Linked DNA regions of Homo sapiens: regions 1, 2, 4, 5, 6 and 7 are each linked to region 3. Evidence: promoter capture Hi-C in 16 types of primary human blood cells and fetal thymus (Javierre and others, 2016). All regions are on one chromosome and are shown on one strand. Each heading gives the region's core, a stretch centred on a gene start or on the middle of the fragment in contact. The rest is flanking DNA. Distances are from core to core; before and after follow the strand shown.

Evidence for each region. Contacts are between HindIII fragments. The CHiCAGO score rates a contact against its expected background, and 5 or more counts as called.
Region 1: a fragment that was not itself captured here is called in contact with the fragment with the promoter of DPAGT1 in region 3 in 1 of 17 cell types (non-activated CD4 T cells); the score reaches 5.2 in non-activated CD4 T cells.
Region 2: a contact is called between a fragment that was not itself captured here and the fragment with the promoter of DPAGT1 in region 3, in 4 of 17 cell types (naive B cells, total CD8 T cells, naive CD8 T cells and 1 more). The highest score is 7.5, in naive B cells.
Region 4: a contact is called between a fragment that was not itself captured here and the fragment with the promoter of DPAGT1 in region 3, in 1 of 17 cell types (total CD8 T cells). The highest score is 6.2, in total CD8 T cells.
Region 5: a fragment that was not itself captured here is called in contact with the fragment with the promoter of DPAGT1 in region 3 in 4 of 17 cell types (fetal thymus, non-activated CD4 T cells, naive CD4 T cells and 1 more); the score reaches 6.6 in fetal thymus.
Region 6: a fragment that was not itself captured here is called in contact with the fragment with the promoter of DPAGT1 in region 3 in 2 of 17 cell types (naive CD4 T cells and non-activated CD4 T cells); the score reaches 7.2 in naive CD4 T cells.
Region 7: a contact is called between a fragment that was not itself captured here and the fragment with the promoter of DPAGT1 in region 3, in 1 of 17 cell types (activated CD4 T cells). The highest score is 5.3, in activated CD4 T cells.

Annotation. Positions count from the first base shown.
Region 1 is chr11:118,439,666-118,442,365 of GRCh38, reverse strand. All of the region lies in intron 1 of KMT2A (lysine methyltransferase 2A), which reads right to left. Among named protein-coding and RNA genes, the nearest start is that of KMT2A, 4.5 kb to the right of the region's middle. The HindIII fragment of the contact is 2,419 bases long and covers 124-2,542 here.
Region 2 is chr11:118,575,077-118,577,883 of GRCh38, reverse strand. All of the region lies in intron 1 of ARCN1 (archain 1 coat protein complex I subunit delta), which reads right to left. It also overlaps a transcript of IFT46 not described here. Among named protein-coding and RNA genes, the nearest start is that of ARCN1, 4.1 kb to the right of the region's middle. The HindIII fragment of the contact is 2,250 bases long and covers 183-2,432 here.
Region 3 is chr11:119,100,603-119,103,302 of GRCh38, reverse strand. DPAGT1 (dolichyl-phosphate N-acetylglucosaminephosphotransferase 1) reads left to right here and starts at 1,450. Exons shown (of 9, transcript NM_001382.4): 1 at 1,450-1,808; 2 at 2,165-2,285; 3 at 2,460-2,673. The coding sequence starts at 1,648. It also overlaps a transcript of C2CD2L not described here. RefSeq lists enhancers at 182-894, 1,106-1,415, 598-1,797, 1,609-2,322. The HindIII fragment of the contact is 9,998 bases long and covers 1,082-2,700 here.
Region 4 is chr11:118,396,943-118,399,642 of GRCh38, reverse strand. UBE4A (ubiquitination factor E4A) reads right to left here. Exons shown (of 20, transcript NM_001204077.2): 20 at 432-2,700. All of the region lies in intron 3 of LOC100131626 (a long non-coding RNA gene), which reads left to right. Among named protein-coding and RNA genes, the nearest start is that of ATP5MG, 3.3 kb to the left of the region's middle. The HindIII fragment of the contact is 232 bases long and covers 1,305-1,536 here.
Region 5 is chr11:118,360,767-118,363,466 of GRCh38, reverse strand. The region is part of intron 1 of UBE4A (ubiquitination factor E4A); the gene reads right to left. Among named protein-coding and RNA genes, the nearest start is that of UBE4A, 2.5 kb to the right of the region's middle. The HindIII fragment of the contact is 2,349 bases long and covers 248-2,596 here.
Region 6 is chr11:118,308,986-118,311,711 of GRCh38, reverse strand. The region is part of intron 4 of CD3E (CD3 epsilon subunit of T-cell receptor complex); the gene reads right to left. Among named protein-coding and RNA genes, the nearest start is that of CD3E, 5.6 kb to the right of the region's middle. The HindIII fragment of the contact is 2,816 bases long and covers 1-2,700 here.
Region 7 is chr11:118,239,200-118,241,984 of GRCh38, reverse strand. It overlaps MPZL3 (myelin protein zero like 3), which reads left to right. Exons shown (of 6, transcript NM_198275.3): 2 at 1,608-1,774. Among named protein-coding and RNA genes, the nearest start is that of MPZL3, 12 kb to the left of the region's middle. RefSeq lists enhancers at 405-474, 1-942. The HindIII fragment of the contact is 2,435 bases long and covers 33-2,467 here.

The sequences.
Region 1 (2,700 bases), core at 84-2,583, 660 kb after region 3:
TGCCAGACTCATTAGTAATTTAACCTTTCTTAATCCCTGAAAATAACATATGCAAACAAAGGAAGGTCCCATCCCAGCAATCCTCGAATAAATTCCTCCCAAAGTAGTGATAGTCACAAAGCTTCCCCCTTCTCAAAGGTCTATGCCACTGGGCTCTCCACCTTGGCAGAGGAAGAATGGAAAGAGACAAGATATTCACAAAAGGCCCGATTGAAGGCCTTCAGTTAAGTGCTAGAAGGAAGCTGAAGCTCTGTGCCAACACTAGTGGAATGTGGGCAGGCACAAAGAGATCTTAATTAGGAGACCTACAATTAAAACACAGCGAGTTTCCAAAAGAGAGAGGCACTGCAGTCTGTTATGCCTCTGAGCAAGCAAAGCACTGTTGCCACCCCCTCTAGCCACAGGGTAAGGGAGGCAATTGGTATAGAGTCTGCACAGCTGCCCCACGGAAGGACAGCTCTAAGGTGAGCAAAGAGATGAGAATTAAGTCAAGATGGGAATAGTTTCTCTCAACTTCCAATAAGAAGATGGATCACTATTGTGTGAATGATGATTTCCTCCAGGAGTATGTGCCTTAAGATAATTAAATGGAAGTGAAAGATGGGGACATGTCATCTGGTTTTCAGTCACAGAGGAAGAAAAGTTCTAAAGACTGAATTTCTAATGCTCAGTATAAACCATTTCAGAACATATTAATAACTACATCCTATGAAGTAGGTACTATCACTTCAGATTTATAAATACATTGATGTATTGGATTTTTCTTTTCATTCAAAATTCATACACCTACAGGAATATACCACCTAGACTGAAAATAACTTCTCTTTTGGATAGTCTGGAATTCACAACAATGACAACACATTTAGCCAAACAAGAGGGCCTCTAAACACCAGATAATGCCTGGGATTCTGTAGGTTCTCAGAACTATGTGTAAAAACTTTATCCTCATTTTTCTTATAAATGAAACTGGTCAACTTCCCCAAAGTCCTTATGTTTTTTCCACACAACGAAAACTTTCCAAGTTGAAATTTCTCCTCCTAATAATAATGCCAGTTATATAGGCAAATGTATAATCTGATATTAAAAATTACCAAACAGAATCCCAGCTACTCAGGAGGCTAAGGCAGGAGGATCAGGAGTTCAAGATGCACCTGGGCAACATAGTGAGACCCTGACTCAAAAAAAAAACAAAAATTATCAAATCGTCTCACTTGACTCTGACTTTTGAAATAAACTCAGAATAAGAAATTCTGATTTGACCAAAAGTTTAATACAACAGAAAGGAATCATAATACTGACACAGAACAGATTCATGAGCTATTTAGTCCAAACTTTTCATTTTACAGATCAGAAATTTAAGGTTAAAAGTGAATTTGCCCAGGGTCTCATAACTGTTCAGTAACGGAGATGAGAGCCCACATCCACTGACTTCTACTCGGAGGCTTCGTGCACTCCACTCTGCTTGTGTTCCCTCCTTCATTTACCTTCTGCCAATCTTAGGACTAGCTGTGAAGGCAACGAAGGAGCAACTCCCACTCTTGGTACATACATGACCAGTAAACATTAAAAAAAAAAAAAAAAAATCACGCTCTCCTACTACCTTTCAGCTGCAGGAGTACTATCTTTTCAAGTCCAATCCAAAAGCCTGTCTCAGTCCACATGAACTAAACTGCAATTTCAAGTGAAAATAAATACACACCAATGCTGTAACTCAGTTTCAATTTGTATCTAATTAAAGTTTGCTATGTTATGATCAGGATGGAAATTTTGCTTTTAATATTTTGTGAAGTAGTAGGGAAGGTAACTGGATTATGACATTAATAAACGAAGACTAGTTACTGATAAACACACTGTTTCAGGGGTTTATTATTACAACAGCCTAACTTCTAGTCAACAGAAAGGGTGCTGCTGTACTATGTTTATTTAGATGGCAAAGTACAGTAGTATGAACATTACCTGAGAGAATCCTTAGAAAAATGGGATACTGACACTACAGAGGGAAGGGGAAAGGCAAAAAATGGACCTCTGATTTCTTACAGTGCTCAATAAAACAAAACCTCAATTCTACTTCCTAATTGTCATACAAAGGAAGTTAGGAACCAACAGCAGTGAAGGACAAGTCTCCTATGGCTAAGGGAGTTCAAACAGCAAAGTCATCTGGAAGTTCTGTTACCTAGTTTTAGAAGTATTAACATAGGTGTTGTTACATAGGCAAGTTATAGTCATTATTCACTGAAGGCGAACCAGAGTTTAAAGAGGTTAGAATCATTTTGGATCATATAACCATTTCTTCATGAATCCAGATAAGACTTGATACAGAGCTATGAGTGAGTTCTGAGAAGCAGTCTTTAGAATTCTATGTCAGCCCAGGGTGAACCCTAAACTTCCCTTTTGGAACTTTATCATTGATTAGTAAGGCTATGTTAAAAAAAAAAAAAAAGTGCTTGCTTCTACACTGAAAACTACCAGCTCAGAGGTTTACCACTACTCAATGCATACCATCAACTCATACTGGATTGCCTCAAACACCACATAAAAAGCTTACCCATGGAACAGAGCTCATTCAAGTCCAATTCAGAAAAAATACTCAAGTTTAATGTAAGGAGTCAACCACTCTTCTCATAATGAAGCAGCAACTACTGTTCAGGAAAAAGTTTTAAAGACAAAAACCCCTTATAAATATGATCCTATTTGAAATAA
Region 2 (2,807 bases), core at 58-2,557, 530 kb after region 3:
CACCTGGCCCATCCACTTTACTGATGAGCATGTTCAAAAACTAATTATAGGTACTGGTAATCTCCATTTTTGCGATATTATAAGAATTAACTGAGTAATTATTTATCGAACATCTACTATACATACAACATGCTTTCTGAGAATTAAGATGACACAGGCTAGCATTCTGCCTACAAGAAGCTTAATAGGGATAAGACACAAACACAAATAACTGTAATATGAGGCAGAATGTGTTAAGTAACATGAGAGAGTAACCGATAAAGTGCGTGGAAATTCAGAGGAAGAGATTACTTCCAGCTGGTACAGTCAGGGATGACTTGATAGAAGAAACAGCATTTAGGCCGGGAGCGGTGGCTCATGCCTTAATCCAGCACTTTGGGAGCCAGGGCAGGCAGATCACCTGAGGTCAGGAGTTCGAGACCAGCCTGGTCAACATGGGAAAACCCTGTCTCTACCAAAAAATACAAAAAATTAGCCAAGTCTGGTGGTGCACGTCTGTAGTCCCAGCTACGGGGAGAGTGAGGTGGGAGGATTGCTTGAACCTGGGAGGCGGAAGTTGCAGTAAGCCAAGATCATACCACTTCACTCCAGCCTGGGCTACAAAGTGAGACTCTGCCTCAAAAAAAAAAAAGAAAGAAAGAAAGAAAGAAACAGAATTTAGATCATGCTTTGATGAATTCCAGGATTTGTTTGTTTTGAAACAGAGTCTTGCTCTATTGCCCAAGCTGTAGTGCAGTGGCGTGATCTTGGCTCAGTGCAGCCTCAACCTTCTGGGCTCAGGTGATTCTCCCACCTCAGCCTCCCAAGTATCTGGGACTACAGGCACAGGCCACCACACCTGGCTAATTTTTTGTATTTTTCTGTAGAGACAGGGTTTTGCCATGTTGCCCAGGCTGGTCTCAAACTCCCAACCTCAAGTGATCTGCCCGCCTGAGCCTCCCAAAGTGCTGGGATTACAGGCATGAGCCGCCACACCTGGCCAGAATTCCAGGCTTTCAGTACGTCAAGATGAAGAAAGAAGTAGGGTAAAATCATATGTCTCTCTTTGAGTCATTCCATTATCCAGATACAAGCAAAACAAGGCTTCCAAAATAGGACCATAGTTCCCCATACTAAGTATAGCATAAATCTCCGAACACCCAGGACACCACAAATTACAGGTTCCAGGCAGTTGACACAGGTCTCTCTGTTACAGCTACTAATATGGCTAGAAGGTATGGTCACCTCTAAACATGATAAATTTATCCTATCCTAAATTAACATTTGTCTTCTTAAAGTTCTTGAAATAATAAACCTCTTTACATTAATGTTTACTGGTTTAACAATTATTAAAATATAGCATATACTAAAAGGTAAGTTAACAATTTTCCCTATTGAAATTTGATCTGATTTTCTCTGAGGAAGAATTAATAAATATGATTACAAAGTTTTTGGTTTTTTTTTTTTTTTTTTTTTTTAACATTTTTGGAAAAAACATTCCAGATCTAAAAGGAACTTGCAAGAGCCCTTGATTGTCTTACAGATGTGAAAACTGAGGGCCCATAAGTTAGATGATCTCTCCAGGACGGTTAAAAAAAAAAAAAATTCCCTCATAAAGTTGAGCTTTGCCAAACAACTTTTAATAATTCTTACATGGTTTGAGTACACTATCTTTGGACTAAATAACAACTCTCTCCTACACAGACTTAACTACATGAATTGTTAAGTGCCTCAAGTAAAAAAACCTGGAGAATTAGGTTTCTGTTCTGCCTTTGCCACTAATTATGTGACCTTGGATAAGTCACTTAATTGATTATTGAAATATCCCTAACATAGGAGGTTAGTTTACATGAAATCCAAAGTGCTCTGTGTCTTTAAAGTTCTGTAAGTCTAAGCATTTGAAAACTACAGTAACAGAAAAAAAAAAAAACAACTACAGTGACAGAAAATGTACAATACTTCCATTTTATACCCACTGCTCCAGTTCTAACCACTTTGGAACAATATTTTATAGTAACATTAGGCTGCCAGAAGGCAAATTGTCTAACCATAACAAATTGTGTGTGCAAGAGAGATACAAGAATAACAGGTGGTATAATAATTCAGGATAAATATGCACAACTCTCTCTCAAAAAAAGTCAAGTTCTTTCTTGAATCTCTAAATGCTTCAGGATCCCTTACTTCCAGAATTATAGTCACCTTCTCCTTTGTAATTCACCGCAATATTTTATACACATATACATGCACACACAATTCATGGTCATATTAAGGCTAGTTTCTATAATTGTCAGGGAGGACTGTTCTGTCTTTTCTATTTATATGAAGCTATTATAGATAAAATCAGAGAGAAGATTACAATAAAATGTAGACCACATACGAAACCTAAAACTTGAAAAGTAATTTACTCAGTGAGGGTTTTAAGTCCATCACATTTCTATTCTAAAACAAAAGCTTGCAGAGAATTAAAACACACACACACACACACACACACACCCGTTATCAGTTTCTGCAGTGAACTTCTATATGAAGACATAAATAGATGGCAAATCAATGGAAACTCAAGAGAATCATTTTCTTTCTTTGCTGTCCCTCAAAACACAATTAAAAAGATACATAAATAATACAGGGGCCGGGCGCCATGGCTCACACCTATAATCCCAGCACTTTGGGAGGCCGAGGCGGGCAGATCACGAGGTGAGGAGATCGAGACTATCCTGGCTAACATGGTGAAACCCCGTATCTACTAAAAATACAAAAAAGTAGTTGGGCGTGGTGGCAGGCGCCTGCAGTCCCAGCTACTCAGGAGGCTGAGGCAGGAGGATAGCTTG
Region 3 (2,700 bases), core at 201-2,700:
TTGGAGTCCTTTCCCTAACTCACTGGTGGTGACTTCCTCTCTGACAAATGGAAATCATTTGCCGCCTAAGAGCCTGTCGGGGAATGAAAGGTAATAAAGATGCTGGTGAACTGGCTGGGCGTGGTGGCTCACGCCTGTACTCCCAGCATTTTGGGAGGCCAAGGCGGGCAGATCACCTGAGGTCGGGAGTCCCAAACCAGCCTGACCAACATAGGGAAATCCCGTCTCTACTAAAAATACAAAATTAGCCGGGCGTGGTGGCGCATGCCTGTAATTCCAGCTACTGCCTGTAATCCCAGCTACTCGGGAGGCTGAGGCAGGAGAATCTCTTGAACCTGGGAGGTGGAGGTTTCGGTGAGCCGAGATCGCGCCATTGCACTCCAGCCTGGGCAACAAGAGCGAAACTCTGTCTCAAAAAAAAAAAAAAAAAAAAAAAAAAAAAGCTGGTGAATTGTTGTTTGCAGGGGAACAGGCCAAGCAAAATGCACAGCAACCTGCAGGAGGCCAAGCAAAATGCACAGTGACCTACAGGAAGAAACCTGACTGGGAGTTCCTCAGACTCACAGGAAATCAGTTGTGGGTCTGATTCCTCTCCCTCCTCAGCTCTTTCCAGAGCCTCAGCCTGGAAATCTCCATCTCCTCCTTGTGGGAGCTAGGTACAATGCAGTGATCCACGGCCAAGCTGAAGTCTCGAGTTAAATCCAAGACCTGAGGGTACTCCCAATCCCTCAGTGAAGTGCTGCGCTGGGTTGCCGGGCAACTAACTGCTACAGCTGGGGCAGAAGGTGGGTGGGATGCTGAGAAAAAAATACCAGAATCGAGGACAAGAAAAACAGAGTGGGAGGGGCTTTTCAAGGATCTACGCTTTAGAATTTACACCATCCTTCCAAATCGTAGCTTTGTTTCCGGGAACTGAGTTGTGTTTACCTTGGCTTCCGACTATGTTGGCAACAGGTTTCCTGCAAGAAACAGGCGCGTCTCCACACCCTCGTCCCTCCTCCCCACCCCCTGCCTTTCAATAGCCATCTTCCTGGAGCCGGAGGCATCCCAGATTAAGGGAGAGGTACGGGCCCTTTAAGCTTGACCTATGGAGGCGGACGGAGCTAAAACTGACGTGGAACCGGAATGTGAGCGGTGTCAGACACGTGGTACAAGGAGGCATTCATCTTGGAACCGGGCAATTGGCATTTCCGCTCTGGGTAGTACATCTTTAACATAATGTTAGGGAAGTATCCGTTCTTGGCTGCCTTTCTTTAATTGCGTTTCCAGTACTCTCTCGGTGATTCTACTCTTGAACATAGGATGAAATTTGGAATCACACTTCTCTTCCACTTCCATCCCCACCCTCTAATGCCCATATTAAAAATGGCGGCCGCCGCCTTCCGCAGTAATGGTTGTTCAGCGAACAAGATCCGGGCGGAAACAGTAGATAGGCGGGTGCAGCGGGGCAGAACATAGGTTGCCTTAGAGAGGTTCCCCGGTGTCCCGACGGCGGCTCAAGTCAGAGTTGCTGGGTTTTGCTCAGATTGGTGTGGGAAGAGCCTGCCTGTGGGGAGCGGCCACTCCATACTGCTGAGGCCTCAGGACTGCTGCTCAGCTTGCCCGTTACCTGAAGAGGCGGCGGAGCCGGGCCCCTGACCGGTCACCATGTGGGCCTTCTCGGAATTGCCCATGCCGCTGCTGATCAATTTGATCGTCTCGCTGCTGGGATTTGTGGCCACAGTCACCCTCATCCCGGCCTTCCGGGGCCACTTCATTGCTGCGCGCCTCTGTGGTCAGGACCTCAACAAAACCAGCCGACAGCAGATGTGAGCAGCGGCACACGGGTCCGGGCAGGGGGCAAGGGCTAAGGAAGGAGTGGCTAGGGCAGGGGCGGGAACCGGGGTGCTTGACCACACGTGAAGACTCAGAACTAACCCAGGCAGCCTGGAACTCGGAGAGGTGATGAGCAGAACTTACTCGCATTGGGGAAAGGATGGGTAGGGACCCTTGGGTATATCTGGGACTCTGGCAGTGGTGCTTTCCTCCCTCCGCCCCCCTCACCACTTACCAGAATAAAAAACCGGGAATGAGAAGACCACTTTGGGTTACTGTAACACCTGCACTAGTGAGTGACCACGCCCCCTTTCCTCTTCCCCCTCGCCCCCTTGCTGCTGGGCCACAGCCCAGAATCCCAGGGAGTGATCAGCGGTGCTGTTTTCCTTATCATCCTCTTCTGCTTCATCCCTTTCCCCTTCCTGAACTGCTTTGTGAAGGAGCAGTGTAAGGCATTCCCCCACCATGAAGTAAGTGGGTTCGTGGGGGTGATTGCCTGTGGCTGGGACCTGGGAGGTACCTGAGAGAACTGGGGTTATTTGGGCTTGTGGGGAGGGGCTAAGAAATTATCAGAAAAGACAGGAATTCTTAAAAGGTGGAATGGGAGCAGGCTTGAGTCATGGACCTGCCCGAGCCTCCCCCAGTTTGTGGCCCTGATAGGTGCCCTCCTTGCCATCTGCTGCATGATCTTCCTGGGCTTTGCGGATGATGTACTGAATCTGCGCTGGCGCCATAAGCTGCTGCTACCTACAGCTGCCTCACTACCTCTCCTCATGGTCTATTTCACCAACTTTGGCAACACGACCATTGTGGTGCCCAAGCCCTTCCGCCCGATACTTGGCCTGCATCTGGACTTGGGTAGGTAGTCCTACCACTGCTGCCCCT
Region 4 (2,700 bases), core at 171-2,670, 700 kb after region 3:
TTTGTGGTTGTACCATTCTAAAAATTGTGTTTTTCCTCCAACAATGGTCTGCAGTTTGGATATTACAGCAGAGGGGAATGGCTGAGTTAATCTAGGCTGACATCTTGCATGGCAGGGGTATGGAAACAAGGAGCAAGAAAGGGGAAGATAACAGCAAATGATTACAAAGACCTGGGGTTCAGGCCAGATAAAGAAAAACAGTGAAGCCAAAAGAGAGCTGGTTAGGAAAACCATACTGTGAGATTCATCTCCTGAGGGTAACCCCAGGGTCCCCTCCAGAGGCCTGGTAAGGCAGGCTGGGTCAGCCAGGTCACACATATTTGATGTTACTTACCTAAAAAAAAAGTGAAACGTCAGAATCCTCTAAGTTTTCAGGGGGATTTCTGAAACTGCCACTAGCTTTTAATACTGGAATAAAGTGATAACAAAGGTTGTAAGTCAGATGTTCATTTATTAAATACAAGTTTTGAACAAACACTGCCAGGCAAGTTTGACAAGAAGTAACCTTCCTGGAATGTTTCAAAATACAGTCGCGTTGATCAAGTTTTATTTCAATCAACCTTTTCATTTTCTGTTTCTAGGTTCATTTCCTGTTGAGCAGTTAGAGCATGTGCATTATTTCCTCACATGACATCAACAGTGCAGCATCAGCCTCTGGCATGTAAAGGCACCCAGTAGACTTATGCTCTGTGCAATGGCTGCTTAGCAACCACCATCAAATAAAGTAATGAAGCTTTTGTAGAGTGTGATATCAAATAGCAACTGGCACCTTCACTTGCACCATTAAAAAACCTTTAACATTTCCTTCAGTTTTCACATATCCATTAAAAAGTATATTAAAAAACAAAACCCAGACTGCTTGATAAAACATACTTAAACAATTTTCCAAGTTTAGTATTAGCCTCTTGGTAAGTTATGAGCAATACCAGAGCTGAGTAAAAGAGTCTTCATTTTGCTATCATACTCCAGCAAAGCCAATACACAAAACTAGGTATGTTAGAAAGTCTGCTCTACTAGATTTAGAGCTGCTTCTAAGTTCCAGACAAAACACCTTTTTAAGCTTCCAAGTGTATATACACACGGTGTTGTACCAAGATAACTTTTTAAAGTCTAATTTTTTTGGATATTCTTAAATTACTTCACAGAAAGAAAAAAGGCACAGAGGACACTTGGTTTCCTTACCAGTAGTGGCCTTAAGCTACACACTTGCTTGTGCAGAGTTTAAAGATATTCAGCAGCATTAATGGTGCCATAGCCATTCATAAAAAGTTTCAGGAAAAGAGTTTAAAAAAAGAAGAAAAGCTTGCCAGAAAAGGCTTACAATCTGAAGGTTAAATACAGAAGAATACAGACAAAGACTGGAGGCAGCATGGGGGTTGTTAACTAGGAAGCTGCTGGGAATAGCTGCCTTCTGAGTTTTTGTGCCCATTTTCCTCCAGTTTTCTCCTGAAAAACTCTGGTCTTTTCCCCTCGTTTTTAAAATGAGAACATCCTACTAGATTGGGTTTGGAAGATAAATGCAAATAGGCAGAAGCTTATTTTATACATAGTTCATTCTCAGAGAGGGAAAGGAGGATGATAAATATTGAATGAAGCTAATTTTAGAAAATAAACAAATCCTGTCAACCCATGCCATAAAGGCCCAGGGAGCACACTGAATGAATCTTACATTCTGGCATTTGCAAAAGTGTCCTCAATTTCCTTTTTCATTTTATAAGCACAGCAATAGGCAACACCTATTTTATATCTAGGATGGGAAGCCCTCTTAGATTTGAGGCTTTCCAGCTGATGCAATCAAAAACCCATCAAGGACTGCTTATAGCAACTTGTGTTGAAATATAAAACTACTATTTATTTGAAAGAGACCATAGTTAATAACATGTTCCAAATGAAGCAGTGACACCCATTTCTTGATCCTATCACTTTTCTTGTCACTTATGACATCTCTGGGCTTAGAAAGACAGTGATATAAAGATAATCCATAGGGGAATGTCCCTAGTCAGCATATTAAGCTGCACAATTGAGTAGTGAGCTCAAGTTCACTTATGAAAGTGGTGTCCACCTACCAACTACACAGGGCTAAGTGGATATTTAAAATGGCTGTGGACAAGGTTGTGCTCAACTTCCTACTTTGTTAATTGAAGACCTAAGGCTGTGTTAGAAGTAGCTCTTAGAAGTCAGGTCACAAGCTCAAACAAATATTAACTATATACATTTTATAATCTCAGAATTTTGTGAAGAATGAGTATGTTAGTAAACATGGCCACATACTGCATACATCTCACTATGGAAGAGAAAATATAAAGTGGTACTCAGTTTACACTAAACCAACAAAAAAGCACATGGGGTGTATGTGTATTTATATATCTCACACACTGAGATATACTGTTGATATTAGTGTCTTAAAATGACATTTTTCATGGATATGATACCCGTTGCCTAAATCTACTTAGGCCTAGTCCTTGTAGAAACAGATTTTCATAAGAGAATAAGGGCCCAACAGTCTCCTCACCCCCATCAATTGGTAGGATTGCCCTACCAATCCTCATTAAAAAGACTGTATAACAAAATTAAGAGCTATCAACAGAAGTTGCACAAGATTCCTTTAAATTCCTTTTTTAAAAAAAATTCTCGTCTATCATCTTATTCAGAAGTCTACACAAACTTAAAGGTATCTGCTTTTATGTGAAGTTACTCTGT
Region 5 (2,700 bases), core at 173-2,672, 740 kb after region 3:
GCTGTAATGACTTAGGCAGTCTAGTCTCCTCTCAGTGCAGCTCAAAGCTTTACTGCTTCAAGGAATTGAACTGTTATTTGGATTTTTAGTAGAGACGGGGTATCACCATGTTGGCCAGGCTGGTCTCGAACTCCTGACCTCAAGTGATCCTCCCACCGCGGCCTCCCAAAGTGCTGGAATTATAGGCATGAGTCACTGCGCCTGGCCTTCTGTATTTTATTTTTTGCTATGTATATTTCAGTAAGCTTAATAATGCAAAAAAAGGGAAAGATACCATATTTAGTATTGAAATTAATGAGAGGGATTTTCCCCATGTAATTACCGCACAAGTTTAATTATTACCTGTAGTTAATGTAAAAACACCAAGAATTGTCTTATTGTTAGCTGACCACCATTCTACTTCCATCCTAAAATACCACAAATTCCAGAGGAATGCAAAAAGTATATTGAGCTCTTGTTATTTCTCTCTCTAAAACATCACATTCATTTTTTTCCTTTGGGTATCCACTCCACTCAATCCAGAAGAGGCTGACCAGTTCAGAAGGGGTTGACCTCACCCACTAGCCCCAGGAATGAACATACAAGTCTGGCCAGGCTAAAAAGAATACAGCATTTTCCAGCCAAAGCAACTGATCCAGGAGTGGGCACAAGACACTATGGAGGCCTAACAGAGTCAATGAATACCAGCTTCAGGACTTCAGCTGAATCTACGGAAAAGTGAGTTTTCTCCTGATTGAGTTGATAAGCCAGTAAGATAGAGTTGCCATCTTTACACCATTTAGAAAAGGCCTAGCCTAAAACCAAGCCAACATACACTAGAAAACAGAATTGAGAGATGGAAAGATAAGTCTGGACTTTTCAGTTATAAAAACCAATAAAATTTCCCTAAATGCCTAAACCAGTTTGATGTTTTTTAAAACACAACTGAAAAGTGTCCAGATTATTACAAAGGACATGCATCACCTGCAACACGTAAGCAGAAAGGAAGCTGAAAGCCAGGAATATAGGACATATGACAGAGAAGCTCTTAAGACTATCAAGAAGGCCGGGCACAGTGGTTCATGCTTATGATCCCAGCACTTTGAGAGGCCAAGGCGGGCAGATCATGAGGTCAGGAGTTCAAGACCAGCCTGACCAACATGGAGAAACCCCATCTCTACTTAAAACACACAAAAAATTAGCCAGGCATGGTGGCGTGCACCTGGAATCTCAGCTACTCAGGAGGCTGAGGCAGGAGAATTGCTTGAACCTGGGAGGCGGAGGTTGCAGTGAGACAAGATCGTTGCCACTGCACTCCAGCCTGGGCAACAGAGGGAAACTGTCTCAAACAAACAAACAAACAAAAAGACTATCAAGAGAAACAAAAAGAATTTATCACCATAAACTGCATTACTTCCTTCTTTCTCAATACTATACTGTTGCACTGTATAAAGAAACTAGCTTTCTACATTTTACCTCTATTTTTACTAGGATTTTAAACTTTCTGCATTGTATTTCTAAGCAGATCTTCTACATTGCTAGGCTGTAAGCTCTTCTGATTACATGTTCATATCTGATTATTCTTTCTTCTGTGTCTGGCATTATACATCACAATCACAAAATCCTAAATAAGTAGTTATTGAATGGCTTCAATCTTACATGTAGTTCTTTCTGAACTCCTTGTAATCAACAGCATCACCCATGACCCTACTTCAAGGTAAGGGCTTTACTACTTGTCTTAGGTTGCAGTGGAAGGTCAAGCTACCAGGCTAGACACTGGTTCTTTGGTATCTTGGCATGTGTAGAATGGTGGATGGAAATAAGTCTCTGTTGTCATCTCTACTATCTGTAAAAAACAAAAAGGTTCTCACCTATCTTTCACTAAGCTCATCTTTTTCACACGTATGTCAAATCTGTGCACAAACTTTTTTTCATTAAAAAAGGGCTAAAACTGTGTAGTCACTTATAGAAAAATTTTACAGGAAAAAGGAGGACTGATCACTTGATGAGAACCTTTGTGGAGATGCCAGTTTAGATTTGTTCAATGGACTTACCAAAGTAAGAGTACCCAGATAATCACCCACTCTAAAGGTCCGATAAAATGAAACCTAAATATTTTGTTTAATATTCAATAATGTCATTCGGGATTTATAATCTCCTATTTTCAGCGCCGGGCGCAGTAGGTCATGCCTGTAATCCCAGCACTTTGGGAGGCCAAGGCAGACAGATCACTTGAAGTCAGGAGTTTGAGACCAGCCTGGCCAATGTGGTGAAACCCCGTCTCCACTAAAAGCGATTACAGGCGCATACCACCACACCTTAGCCAGGCTGTAATCCCACTACTTGGGAGGCTGAGGCAGGAGAATCACTTTTAAACTGGGAGATGGAGGTTGCCGTGAGCTGAGATCGTGCCACTGCACTCCAGAGCAGAGCCTGGGTGACAGAGCCAGACTCTGTCTCAAAAAAAAAAAAAAAAAAATACACACACACACACACACACATATATACATACATATATGTATGTATTTTTTTTCCTATTTTCAACTGCCATACAGAGATACAACACTATCCTGTTGTCAGACACTTTGGGATGGTACAGCTACCAACCTTAGAAGCTTTTGGATTTGATTCTTTTAAAATATATCCTCCTTGAAAACAAGTTTCACTCTGATACACTTGCTGCAAAGATCTATATCTATAATAGCTGTCCTACAAAATTCT
Region 6 (2,726 bases), core at 43-2,542, 790 kb after region 3:
GCTACTGGCCTTCTCAGAAATAAAGCTCTCCACACCACTGAATCACTGATTCGTGGACTTACCTATTTCTTACAATTTAAAATCCTTTCTCAGAACTGAGTCCCTCATAATAGAGAAGAAACATCTTTGTTCTTATTCCATATAATTTTCTCTCTATTTGCCTTTAAATAATGTGAAATACTCTACACGTTTTGAGGGAATGCTTCTTCCAATAAAAAGTGGCTTCACTTTACATTATATCTGAGCATAATCAGCTCTCAATTATTTTTGTTAGAGGGAGGCCTATTAGTGTGGACAACTGAAATCAACTAATAAACCACTAATGCCATTCGTAGGTCCAGCCTGTGTTTCCCACAGCAGCCATTTTTGCCCTGGGAGGTGGAGCTAGGAGTCCTTTATTATTTCCTGGAAAACTTGTGGCTGGAACACTGGGTTCTGCTACAGTCTGGACATAACAGCTGGAAGAGAGGAGAGGCAGTGCTGCTGCTGTCAGGGACAGAGCTCTGGACTCAAGAGTCAGAAGCCCTGAGTTTGAATCCTGGATCTGCCCTAGTCTGTGTGACTGAGGGCAAGTCATTTAACTTTGCTGAACCTCAACTTCTTTATCAGGGAAATGGAGATAAAACACCAACCTCACAAAGTTTTTGCGAAAATTAAATGGATTATGAAGGTGAAAGTGAATGACACATAGCAGGTGCTCAAGAAAAAGTTACTTCCTTTCCTCCTTTCCTTCTTGAGGTCCTGCTACTCCCAGAGCAGAACTAAACTCTGACCCAGTTGCTCAGGCAGCCCTCTGACAAAGACTGCACAGAATGTAAACAAAACATTCTCCAGGTTTTTCCACCTGCTTATAATTGGGAGTTGAGTATAAGGACAGTAGATAGTTTATATTATTTTAATTTATAAATAATTTTTCAACACGGATGTTTCTTAGACATGTTAAATGAACTAGAAATCATAAATAAAGTACATAGACATTATACTCTGCTGGGTGTGTTTGTTTGAAAAAAATGTAAAGAAAATTGCTCACAACTTTTATTGGCACAAATTCAGTAGCAGAGCTTAGACTTAACTCATGCTCACACAAGGGTCTAGATGTCTGTGCTTAGACAGAAATGTGCTCCACGTATGTTCATTGTGCACTATTCACAATAGCAAAGACATGGAATCAACCTAAATGCCTGTCAGTGGTAGACTGGATAAAAAAATGTGCTGCATATACACCATGGAATACTACGCAGCCATAAAAAAGAATGAGATCACGTCCTTTGCAGGAACATGGATGGGACTGGAGGCCATTATCTTTAGCAAACTAACACAGTGACAGAAAACCAAATACCACATGTTCTCATTTAGAAGTGGGAGCTAAATGATGAGAACACATGAACACAGAGGGAAATGACACACACTGGGACCTCTCAGAAGGTGGAGGGTGGGAGGAGGGAGAGGATCAGGAAAAATAACTAACAGGTACCAGGCTTAATGCCTGGGTGATGAAATAATCTATACAACAAACCCCCATGGCACAAGTTTACCTATATAACAAACCTGCACATGTACCCCTGAATTTAAAATGAAAGTTAAGTTAAAAAAAGATATGTGTGCTCACAAAGATTTTATACATATCCAGAAACAGTATTTCATAATGGTTGAGAAAATGAACTTCGGTATCATATAAATCTGCATTAAAATTTTTTTATTTTTAAATTTCTATTTATTAATTTTTTCAGAGACAGGGTCTTTCTCTGCCACAGAGGCTCGAGTACAGTGGCACAATCTTTGCTCAATGCAGCCTCAACCTTCTGAGCTCAAGCGAGCCTCCTGCCTTGGCCTCCCAAAGTGTTGGGATTATAGGCATGAACCATGGCACTTGGCCTAAATCTGCATTTATATCCCCAGGACTGGATTGTTTACTTATTTTTGTTTATTTCTGTATTTATTTGAGGCTTTGTTTCCTTAACTGTACAGTAGGGGTGTTGGAAGAATTAAATGAGGAAATTCAAGTAAAATATTTAGAGCAATGCCTAAAACATACATGCTCAGTAAACTTTAATGCTTATCATCTATAGTCAGCATGCTTTCCATGTATTAATAGCTAAAATTCACCTACTGTCTGTTTGTTTGTTTGTTTGTTTTGAGACAGAGTCTTGCTCTGTCGCCCAGGCTGGAGTGCAATGGCACAATCTCAGCTCACTCCAACCTCCGCCTCCCAGGTTCAAGCAATTCTCCTACCTCAGCCTCCTGAGTAGCTGAGATTACAGGCACCTGCCACCATGCCTGGCTAATTTTTGTATTTTTAGCAGAGATGGAGTTTCACCATGTTGGCCAGGCCGGTCTCGAACTCCTGACCTCAGGTGATCCTCCCACCTCGGCTTCTCAAAGTGCTGGGATTACAGGTGTGAGCCACCATGCCCGGCCCTCCTACTGCCTTTTATGTCAGATAATGTTCTAAGTGCCTTAAATGAATTACTCATTTGGTCCTCATAATAACCCTACAAGTTAGGTAGCACTATTATTTCCATTGTACCATGATGATGCTGTGGCACAGAAAAGTTAGGTAAATTACTCAAACACACCCAGCAAGTAGAGAGTTGAGCCAAGATTCAAACATTCTGATCTAGCTCAGTTAGACTCTTATCCTCATACTATACAGCTTTATCTCTTCTGCATAAAATATTTTTCTTCCCTAAAACATAAGCTTATCCTTTAAAATTCAGCTCAAGGAC
Region 7 (2,785 bases), core at 1-2,500, 860 kb after region 3:
CCTAAGAAAGTGGGGACTGAGGGATAAAAGCTTTCCAGCAGAGGGACAGCATTTGCAAAGGCACAGAAGGCAGGACAGGTTTAGCATGGCAAAGTCGGAAAGGGTGCCATAGGCAGACCAGAAGTAATCTTCATCTTTGGGAGGGTCAGATTCTTATGAGTTCTTATTAGTGGGTTCAGTTTTGGTCTCCTCCTTTTAAAAGGAATGTCAACAGACTGGATTGTCTAGAGAGGAGCAAGAAAAATGATTCAAAGCTGGCAGAGGTAGAGGCAGTGGAACTGATGACTCATAACTGTGACAGGAAAGGTTGAGAGTGTGTGGGCAGGACTGAAGAGGTGGCAATAATGACAATGACACTGTCTAACACGCACTGAGCACTTACTCTGGTTCGGGTAGGCTTCTTAGTGTTGTATGTGTTTTAACTCTTTTAATCCTCACAGTGGCCTTCTGAGGTAAGTACTGTTATTATCATTCCCATGAGGCTGAGAAGACTGAAGAAGTACGGTAACTTACTAAGGCTGCAGAGCCAGCAGGTGACAGGGCCGGGATTTGAACCCAGACCCTCTGGTGTAGGAGCCGTGGCCTGCGTGCTCAATCACAACACCATTCTGCCTGTACCAGAAGCACTGCCGATTTTCAGGACAGCGTGTGGGTTTGCACTTTTCTGAAATCTTGCTGCTCTGTTTATCTTGGCCAGCAGAAGATTCATGGCTTCTTGAGGTAGATAAGGAAGCAGGAAGAACAAAGTACTGGCAATGTCATTTCCTAAAATATGCCCCTGTAGGGAAAGATAAGTTTTTGTTCTCTGAAAGCAGAAGGAACTGGTTAGAACAAAGTGCCAGCCCTTTTCAGAGAGATGAAGTGTCAGAGTTGGATAAATGAGTGGTTTTGGAAGACGTAAGTCTCTAGTGGGTTTTAAAATGGTACCTTATTTTTACTTGCTAGAATGCATTTACCTATTCTGTTTTCTTCTCCATGATTTACTTTTAATGGATGTGTGATTCCTCAGCCAGCTTTAAGAAAAAGGGAAAAACTAGATAGTACCTTGGGGGCAGTTTTAGAAAATTATTTGAAATAAATTCTCCCATTCTTACTTCCTATTCTCATTTTGCTGTTGATGAGGCAATGGTAGCTTCATGATGCAACCATGCTATACTTGGGGTAAGTCCCTTAGACCACAAAAGCTGCCATATTCCCAGAGTGTGTGTGTGTGTGTGTGTGTGTGTGTGTGTGTGTGTGTGTGTGTGTGTGTCTGCGGGGGATGGAAGGGGATGGGTGATGTTGCCTTTTAGCCAGCCATGGGCAGACCCATTGTTTGTACTTAATTGAACCACAAGCCTGTATTCGGGAAAACGCTGGTGTGACCAGATTTTAAATTTTTACACAAGCATTCAGTTGTGATTTAAGATTAGAAAATGATTGAAAAATGCTATCTTTGATTAATGCAGATATCAACTCCTTGTCCCTTGTGGGCTTGCCTGAGAAGATAGTTGTTAATATTTATTGCTCTGGCTTTTTGATGAGGGCTCTAAAAATAATTGTTCACTCACATCTGTATATTCCACCCACATGAATGCATTTTAAGTGTTTGGGTTTGCTTTGATTAGGTGTTTATATCGTCTTTTCCTTGGAGATTCGTGCAGATGCCCATGTCCGAGGTTATGTTGGAGAAAAGATCAAGTTGAAATGCACTTTCAAGTCAACTTCAGATGTCACTGACAAACTTACTATAGACTGGACATATCGCCCTCCCAGCAGCAGCCACACAGTATCAGTAAGTGTGTACTTTTTCGGAATGTTCCTTTGGTCAACAGTTTTGGAATTGTTTTACTGCAAATCATAGGCATGCCTGAGGCCATCTCATCTTAGAGTAGAAGATGGGCTTCTACTTTAATAGAGATAGATGAACTTTTATCCTATATGACATTCATTTGGTCACGCAGGGCCCCACGTAAGAATTCTGTAAATAAGCTGCAGGAAAAAAGCTGTCAGAAACTCAGAGGAAATGTGGTTTAATTTTGTTTCCTCTTTGTTGTTTCTTTTTGCATTATTTCATAGCTTCATTTTCAGATTTAATGTACTAAAAAGGGTACCTTCAGGACTATTGAATAGAAAAATTCTATGGGTCCAGTCATGGACATCCTTTCTCTTAAGGCTGCTCATTTTCTGTCATATTAAGTTGTCTCAATGGGTGTATCTGTTTGCATATTTGCGCTTTGTGGAGTTATCTTGGCACTTTCTCCCAGTGTATAAACATCTGCATTGATTTATATGGCTGCCTTTGAAGGAAATGGTGGCACCTCGTGTTGGTGACAGATGTTGGTGACAGATGGTCTTGCAATATTGGAAGCAATATACCTTATTGAGGTATATTAGTCACACATATAAAACACATTTATGGTCCAAGTTTCATTGTAGGTGTCTAATTGAAGATTAAAATGCTATAAAATTTTTTTCTCTTTAAGCTTCCAGCAGTATCCTTAGCTCAGGATAGATGTTATTCAAGAATGTGAATGTCATAGCTGTATGGAAGATTGTATTTTTTAAAGTATTGTTAATTTATTTATCCCATTTCCTTCACTGGAAAAATGTCCTCTTTGACTTTCATGTATAAATAAGCTTTGCATTCTGTGTTAGGAGCCATTATAGAATGCCACATAGCTTGAGGCTAGGTAGGGGACTCCAGTGAAAGAAGCTAGGCTGTATTCATGCTCCCCTCCCACTTTTTTTTCAGACTTGAAATAGTTCACTTGATTCTGAGTGGTCAGGAAACTGTGGCTGGCCT